Regions from separate parts of the Homo sapiens genome. Here region 1 is linked to region 2. Evidence: promoter capture Hi-C in 16 types of primary human blood cells and fetal thymus (Javierre and others, 2016). All regions are on one chromosome and are shown on one strand. Each heading gives the region's core, a stretch centred on a gene start or on the middle of the fragment in contact. The rest is flanking DNA. Distances are from core to core; before and after follow the strand shown.

The links. The method cuts DNA at HindIII sites, captures the fragments that hold promoters and counts their contacts. A CHiCAGO score of 5 or more calls a contact.
Region 1: a contact is called between the fragment with the promoter of SPINT4 here and the fragment with the promoter of WFDC8 in region 2, in 4 of 17 cell types (M2 macrophages, M1 macrophages, M0 macrophages and 1 more). The highest score is 6.6, in M2 macrophages.

Annotation. Positions count from the first base shown.
Region 1 is chr20:45,720,159-45,724,282 of GRCh38, reverse strand. SPINT4 (serine peptidase inhibitor, Kunitz type 4) reads right to left here and starts at 1,936. Exons shown (of 3, transcript NM_178455.3): 1 at 1,801-1,936; 2 at 226-403. The coding sequence starts at 1,915. The HindIII fragment of the contact is 5,556 bases long and covers 275-4,124 here.
Region 2 is chr20:45,576,635-45,580,596 of GRCh38, reverse strand. WFDC8 (WAP four-disulfide core domain 8) reads left to right here and starts at 1,313. Exons shown (of 6, transcript NM_130896.3): 1 at 1,313-1,375. The coding sequence starts at 1,350. RefSeq lists an enhancer at 1,563-2,498. The HindIII fragment of the contact is 6,723 bases long and covers 1-3,274 here.

The DNA.
Region 1 (4,124 bases), core at 687-3,186, 140 kb before region 2:
TCCTGACCTCAGGTGATACACCCACCTCAGCCTCCCAAAGTGCTGGGGTTACAGGCATGAGCCACTGCGCCCGGCCAACCCAACTGTTAAAACTTCTTATTTGAGCAATCCTCCCTCTTCCCACTCCAAGCAAGGTTAGCCCCTGATCAATTTTCTCTATCTTAGGATGTCAAAACCTCTTCTTTTACTACCCCCAAGGACCAAGGACAGGATTAGATTCCTTACGGTGGTTTGTATTTTGCAACACAGGCTACTTCACGTTCTATTTTAAGCTTGAAGTTGTTAAGGTTGCCATTACAGCCGGAGAAGACAAAAGTTTCACATCTTTTGGAGGTTCTGTTGTAGAAATATCTAAAGTGAACTTCATAGCAGCTTCCAAAATTCATGTCCAATTTGCAGGGATCTGCATGAGAGGTTCCCATTGAGTTAGTGGGAATTGGTAAGGACTCAGCAGGAGAACTTGTCTTTATGGGCCCTTAAAAATTCCTACGTTTAGCCTGGAACTATTCTCATATTCAAGGACTCTGAAAGATGTGGTTTTCTCTTGGAGTTAGAGTTGCTTGGAAATGTTGCCCTTGCACAATGCAAATTGGTTAAAATTCCAGGTTGTTGTCGTGAGCAGTGTATTGGAGAAGGAGAAGTAGTGATCAGTGAAAAAGGAGGTTCCACCACTAGCTTGTGCAGGGCGATGAGCTTCCCTACATTTCCTATCTTACAGTTTATTAAAGTACAGTATCCTCCTGCTTCCCCACATCATCTTCCTTTCCTTTTAATTGCCCACATAGGACATGCAATTCAGAGTGCCTCCTCCCCAGTTTCATACATTCACTATACTACCTATACTTCAAAATTTAAGTAACCATGGCTGCTGCTATCTTTAAAGCAGGATGCATACTAAAATGCTAAAATGCATAACCTTGGGGTGATGCTCGTTCATCCTCATACCCCGTCATCTTCTCCTTTCTTGCCTTCTCAGAGGCAAACCCTCTGTTTTTATTGTTAAGAGTTGGGTAGTAAGTGGTTGGAACAGCCACAATCATGGTTGTATTGACAATCCACCTTACTCAAGCAGCCAGCCTGGAATTTACTCTCTGGTAAAGTTATGTGCATAATCTTATTTCATACTCACAAACACCCTCTGCAGCAGGCACTTTTCTGATCTTCATTTTACACATGGGGAAACTGAGACTAAGAGAATAATAAGTGGTTGAGTGACTTGTCCAAGGGCACATATCTGCTAAGTGAACAGGTCCAGAACTTGAAGTGTCTGACTTACGGTATAAACTGTGCTACTTTCTCGTCCCCTGGAAGCGCTGAGCCTTCACACACTATCTATGGAAGAAAGTCTCATTGCCTCTCACATTTACATTGTGAGCTCCTCTAAACAGGAATCATCTGTCCAAGAGTTCTGTATATGTCCATAGCCCAGATACTGAAAATGTCTTAATTTGCTCTGTCTCCAACCCCCTTTCTCTCTCATCCCAATACATAATCATCAATGGTCTGGGATCTTTGAAATTTGTCACACAACCTCTGATTCAAAATACTTCCAGTCCTTTGGACCTCCTATAAAAGAGGTCTCCATCTGGAAAGGACTTTGTGTCATTTCTGTTTTTTCTCATCAAACATCCAGAGGACCCCTAGTGTAAGTAATGCCCTGAGTCAAGGGACTAAGTGTCTATGGGTATTGTCATGAAAGGAAGACCTTCCTGGACTACCTAGATAACACACTTTTCTCCCAATACCTTCTCTCTCATTCATAATTGACCTTTGGATTTATTTTCTGCCTTAGCTTCATACCTTTGAGGTCTCCACATATCTTCTCCGCAATTTTATTAACACCACCCAATAACAGGGTATTCAATGAGCAGAAGATGAAGAATCTTAGAAGAAATCCCAGCTTGGCAGACTTCATGGTGCAGCAAGCAGCAGGCAGGATAGTTGTGGTATCACCTGATGTTATATTTTGGGCTTGATACTTGAGACGGTTGAGCTCACCTACCCCAAGGGCCAGGACTGGACATTACTAGGTGTTGAGTTGAACAGTGAGTGCTTGGGTACCCAGCCATGAAGCTGAAGGCCCCAAACTGATTAGACCCTTGATAGTGAGTCCCATGTTCATCTAGAAGCAATAGAAACTTAAGGATCAGAGCTTCTGCATATATTTAATCATGAAGGGTAGAATCATCAGAGTGAGGAATTAAAAAGGGATTTCTTCCTTTCTCTTTTTGACCTTTTATGCACAGAAGAAACTAATCATGGCACAAGAGAAAGAGTGCAATAGCACTATAATAATAGTAACAGGGTTAGTTATAACCTAGAGTACTACTTAATTCCAGGTGCTATTTTTAAGTAATTTGTATATACTTTATCATCATATACACCCTATGAAGTAAGTACAGTTATTACCATCATTTAAGGATGAAATGGAGACAGAGATTAGGTTACATGTACAAGGTCACTCATTTATTATGTGGTAGAGACAAGATTTGAACTTGGCTTCAGAGTTTTTGTTCTTAGTCACACTACACTATGTTATCTAGGAACATGAGGACATCTTGGATCTGTTTTCTCCTAAAAGTTTTGAAGTTTTGGCTTACCTTTACACCCTAAAACCACCTGATGTTGATTTTTTGGTAAGGTATAACATAAGGATCCTTTTTCATTTTTCAGTGGTTCCAGACCTATTTATTAATGAGTTCCTCTTCTATTTAACTGCAAAATAATTTTGCTTAATTATGTGGGATTGCTTCTGAGCCCTTTATTTCACTCCACTGTATACCCCCACTCCAAAGCCACACTTAATCTCTTGAACTTTGTTTATCTTAGGATTTTGTATTTTCATATAAATTTTAGTCAGTTTATCAAGTTATTCAAAAGACCTGTTTCGGGCCAGGCGTGGTGGCTCATGCCTGTAATCCCAGCACTTTGGGAGGCTGAGGTGGGTGAATCCCATGAGGTCAGGAGTTGGAGACCAGCCTGGTCAACATGGCAAAACCCCGTCTCTACTAAAAATACAAAAATTAGCTGGTTATGGTGGTGAGTTCCTGTAATCTCAGCTACTTGGGAGGCTGCGGCATGAGAATTGCTTGAACTGGGAGGCAGAGGTTGTAGTGAGCTGAGACTGTGCCATTGCACTCCAGCCTGGGTGACAGAGCAAGACTCTGACCGAAAACGAAAACAAAAACAAAAACAAAAACAAAACACCTATTTTGGATATTCATTTGAATTGCACTGGATCTACAAATCAATTGGAAAAGAATGATATCCTTATAATATTGTCTTTGATATATATATTTCCATCTATTTTGACCTTCATTAATATTTTAAAGAAAGGTTTATGACATTTCTCATGCAGGTGTTACAATCTTATTTATATTTTTAATATTATTGTAAATGCTATCTTTTAAAAAAATCTTCAACTTTTATTTTAATTTCAGCGGTACATGTGCAGGATGTGCAGGTTTGTTACATACATAAACCATGTGTGCCATGGTGATTTGCTGCACAGATCATCCCTACACCTAGGTATTAAGCCCAGCATTCACCAGGTATTCTTCTTGATGTTCTCCCTCTCCCTACCACCCCCATGATATGCTCCAGTGTGTGTTGTTCCACTTATGTGTCCATGTGTTCTCATCATTCAGCTACCACTTGTAAGTGAGAACATGCAGTGTTTGGTTTTCTGCTCCTGTGTTAGTTTGCTGAGGATAACTGCTTCGAGCTCCATCCATATCCCTGCAAAGGACATGATCTCATTTCTTTTTATGGCTGCATAGAATTCCATGGTGTGTGTGTGTATATATATATATTTCAGTATCACATTTTCTTTATCCAGTCTATCATTGATGGGCATTTGGATTGATTCATGTCTTTGCTATTGTGAATAGTGCTGCAATGAACATATGCATGCATGTGTCTTTATAATAGAATGATTTATGTTCCTTTGGGTATATACCCAGTAATGGGATTATTGGGTCAGATGGTATTTCTGCCTCTAGATCTTTGAGGAATCTCCACACTGTTTTCCACAATAGTTGAACTAATTTACACGCCCACTAACAGTGTAAAAGTGTTCCTTTTTCTCTACAACCTCTCCAGCATCTGTGTTTTTTGTTTTTTTT
Region 2 (3,962 bases), core at 64-2,563:
GATGGTAAAAATGAAAAGATTGTGACAGTTCTACATACAGCATGGTTATGGAACAATAGGAACTCTCAACTACCAATGGCAAGGCTGTGAATTGGTACAAACTCTTTGGGAAATAATTTGGTATCAGCTTGAGAAGCTGAAGATATGCATACCCTGTAACCCATCATTCCCTATGCTGAATGTATAACCTACAAGAACACCTGCCCACGTGCTCCAGCAAATGCACACAGAGTGTTCATAGCAGCTTTATTCTTTTTTTTACATGAGTAAATTGTTTAAAATTTTTTTGACATTTAAAAACATTTATTAATTCATTTAACGTAATAAACTTATTACATGTTGATATAAATAACATTTTTATTTAGAAAATCCTAGTTTTTTATTATACTTTAAGTTCTGGGATACACGTGCAGAACGTTATTACATACATGCTATGTATACACACAGCAGCTTTATTCTTAACAGCTGCAAACTATAAACAACTCAGTAGAGATGTGTGTAGTCATACAATAGATGGCATGGCAATGAAAATTGACAAAATACAGCTACACAAAACAATGTGGATGGAATTCATTAATATAATGTTGAACACAAAAAGCCAGGCACAAAAGAATACATTCCAAGTGACTCCATTGATATAGAACAGAAGCAGACAAAAACAAAAACATATTTAGGGGAATACATATGATCTTGAAAATATGAAAAAGAAAGTCACTACCATTAGCTGCCTTTGAGAGCATAGGAAGGGGTTGTGACTGGAAAAGAATGAAAAAGGAGCAGAAAGTGTTGGAAATTTTTTACTTGATTTCAGTGATAGTTTAATGAGTGGTCACTTCGTAATAGTTCGTTAGACTGAACATTAATGTTTCATGCATATTTTTATTTTTGTGGTGTTTTTCACAATACATATTTTTACAAAAAGGAAAAGTAGCTCTTCCTTGTTTTGTCTCCTTTTCTTTACTAACTGAACTAGTCAGTCCTAAAGCCATTAGATAGGCACATTTAGCAAGGTAGGCGTTTGCCCCAAGGGGAAGGGAGCCACGGCTGGCTCCGTGTGGGCATCAGAGCTGGAACAGGTCAAGGAGGGTGTCTCTGTAGGAGGGCTGCTGGCCTGGTGTGCTGGAGCCAGGGGTAGATGAGAATGCCCAGTGAAGAGGCAAGAAGCAGCATAGCATGGAGACCAGCCTGCCCATGTTGAGAAAGGCATCCCCCTGGGGCTAGAGGGGCAGACTGGCATAGAATGAGAGCCTGAGTGGGGTGAGCAGAGTGTCCAGGCAGGGGAGCAGATGAGGGAGGAGCCTTAGAGCTGGAGCAAAGTGAGGAAGCTGTCTCCATAGGGAAGAGGCCTGATGTGGACTGTCCGAACTGAAGGAGGGTGAGGAGGGTGTCTATGGGGGTGGGTAGCCAGACATGGAGGGTCTGAGCCCAAGGAGATGAGGAGGATACATAGAAGTTAGAGTGGTCGGCTGTGGGGAGTTGGGCCAAGCATAGTGAGGAGGGGTTCCACAGAACAGAGCTGTCTTGTGTCAGGAATCAGAGCCTAAGCAGGGTGAAGAGGGCATCAATGCATCCAGCGATTCTCCTGCCTTAGCCTCCCTAGTAGCTGGGACTACAGGTGTGCGCCACCACGCTCGGCTAAGTTTTGCATTTTTAGTAGAGACGGGGTTTCACCATGTTGGCCAGGCTGGTCTCGAATGCAACCTGATATGGCTGTTGGAGCCCAAGTAGGGTAAGTTGGGCATCTTTGAGTGGCCCAGTGTGGAGGGGCAGAGCCTGAGCAAGGTAAAGTTTGATATTTTAAATTAAACAAGCATATAATATGTATCTAAACATTTTCAAAAAATTAAAACAGGAGTAGTAGTGATGGGTTATATTATTATTCACAACTATTCATTCCATCTTTCCTTTAAGAGGACACTCCTGTCCATTACCTTGCAATTTTAGAACGGCCCGTGGAAGGAAGACACATTTCTGTCTCATTGACTTTGGGTTTGCTGTCAGCTGTGCTTTGCCTATTGGAGTATGAGCAGATGTAGCATATGCATAGTGAGTTTTGCACTGTGAGTTTCTGCCAGCTCCTTTGTGCTTTCTCTCTGCCAGGAGAAGGGGCCTAATCCACATAGAGGCTGCTTCTTTTGTCTTGGTCCCACAGCCTCAAGTAGAGCCCCCACTTGGAACAAAGCAGTAGACAATTTGCCTAGGAAGTCTTTTGTTGTGGCAAGCCATGGAGAGCTCAAAGTTCTTTGTACACCAAAGTAATAAAAATACAGTTGATTCCCATTACTTGGGGGTAGTTATGTTCTGTAAAGTCACTGTGAACACCGGATTAGCAAATACTGAGCCATTGCTCCTAGGGAAAATGCAAGCCTCTGACCACACATTTTCATCATTTGATCAATACATAACCTTGTTTTTATATGTGCTTCTGTCTGAAGACACATGACAGAGATGGTAATTAGAAGGTGCACACAGAAGACTTCTGGGAAGCTGGCTACTTTCTATTTTTTAATCTGTGTGGTTAATTATTAAATAAAACTCTACATACTTTATTTATTTATTTATTTTTATTTTTATTTTTTTTGTTTTGTTTGAGAGGGAATCTCTCTCTGTCCCCCAGGCTGGAGCATAGTGGTGTGATCTCGGCTCTCTGCAACCTCCACCTTCTGGGTTCAAGGGATCCTCCTGCCTTAGCCTCCTGAGTAGCTGGGACTACAGGTGTGCACCACCACTCCAGGCTAATTTTTGTATTTTTAGTAGAGACAGGGTTTCACCGTGTTGGCCAGGCTAGTCTTGAACTCCTGACCACAGGTGATCTGCCTGCCTCAGCCTCCCAAAGTGCTGGGATTACAGGCATGAGCCACCGTGCTGGCCCTGTCTTTATTTTTTAAACATGTATATAGGCCAGGCGCGGTGGCTCATGCCTGTAATCCCAGCACTTTGGGAGGCTGAGGCAGGCGGATCACTAGGTCAGGAGATTGAGACCATCCTGGCCAACACAGTGAAACCTCATCTCTACTAAAAATACAAAAAATTAGCAGGACGTGGTGGTGGGTGCCTGTAATCCCAGCTACTCGGGAGTCTGAGGCAGGAGAATCACTTGAACCCAGAAGGCGGAGGTTGCAGCGAGCCGAGATCGCACTACTGTACTCTAGCCTGGCGACAGAGTGAGACTCCATCTCAAAAAAAAAAAAAGACACCTTATGTAATATATATTATTGTTTCATTAACATTGAATTGTGGCTGAAAGCCCTGTAACTCATGCCTGAACCAAGCTTATCTGACACAAGTAATTTCTTTGTAAGGCACATTGCAGGCCTCTTGCTCTTAGGACACTTGACAGCACTTTAGTAATTCTTGGCAGCCATTTTAAACAGCAAACTCACCAACAAAAAGCACAAAAATGTGAAAAATGTGACACTAAGTAGACTGCAAAAAGGAAGCTTGTTTATAGTAGTAGAAGAGCTTAAACAAGCAGAGCGTTGCCTTGTTTGACTTCAGCTGGGAATGTGTACGTTGGGGGACTCAAATTTTTTGCCATTCTGCACATATCCCTGAATGACCACAAAAGCATCATGAGTATTGATTTTTGGGTAATAAATAAATTTCAGCAAGTAGGCAAATTGGCAAGTACAGAATCTGAATAATGAGGACTGAGAGTAGATAACTTGTAATAAAATTGTAGAAATGAATCCAAATATGTCATTAGTGCCCATAAATGTCAATTAATAGGTAATAATTTCTGGACTGGATTTTTACAATGTAGATTTACACGATTTGAAGGATAAACTTAAAACATAAGTAGAATGGTTGAACGCAAAAGAATGGAAAAAAGACTAGGCAAATGCAAACAAAGAAGAGAGAGTATAGTTTGATTAATATTAGGCAATAGAAAACTCTAAGGCTGGGCACATTGGCTCACGCCTGTAATCCCAACACTTTGGGAGGCCGAGGCAGGCAGATTG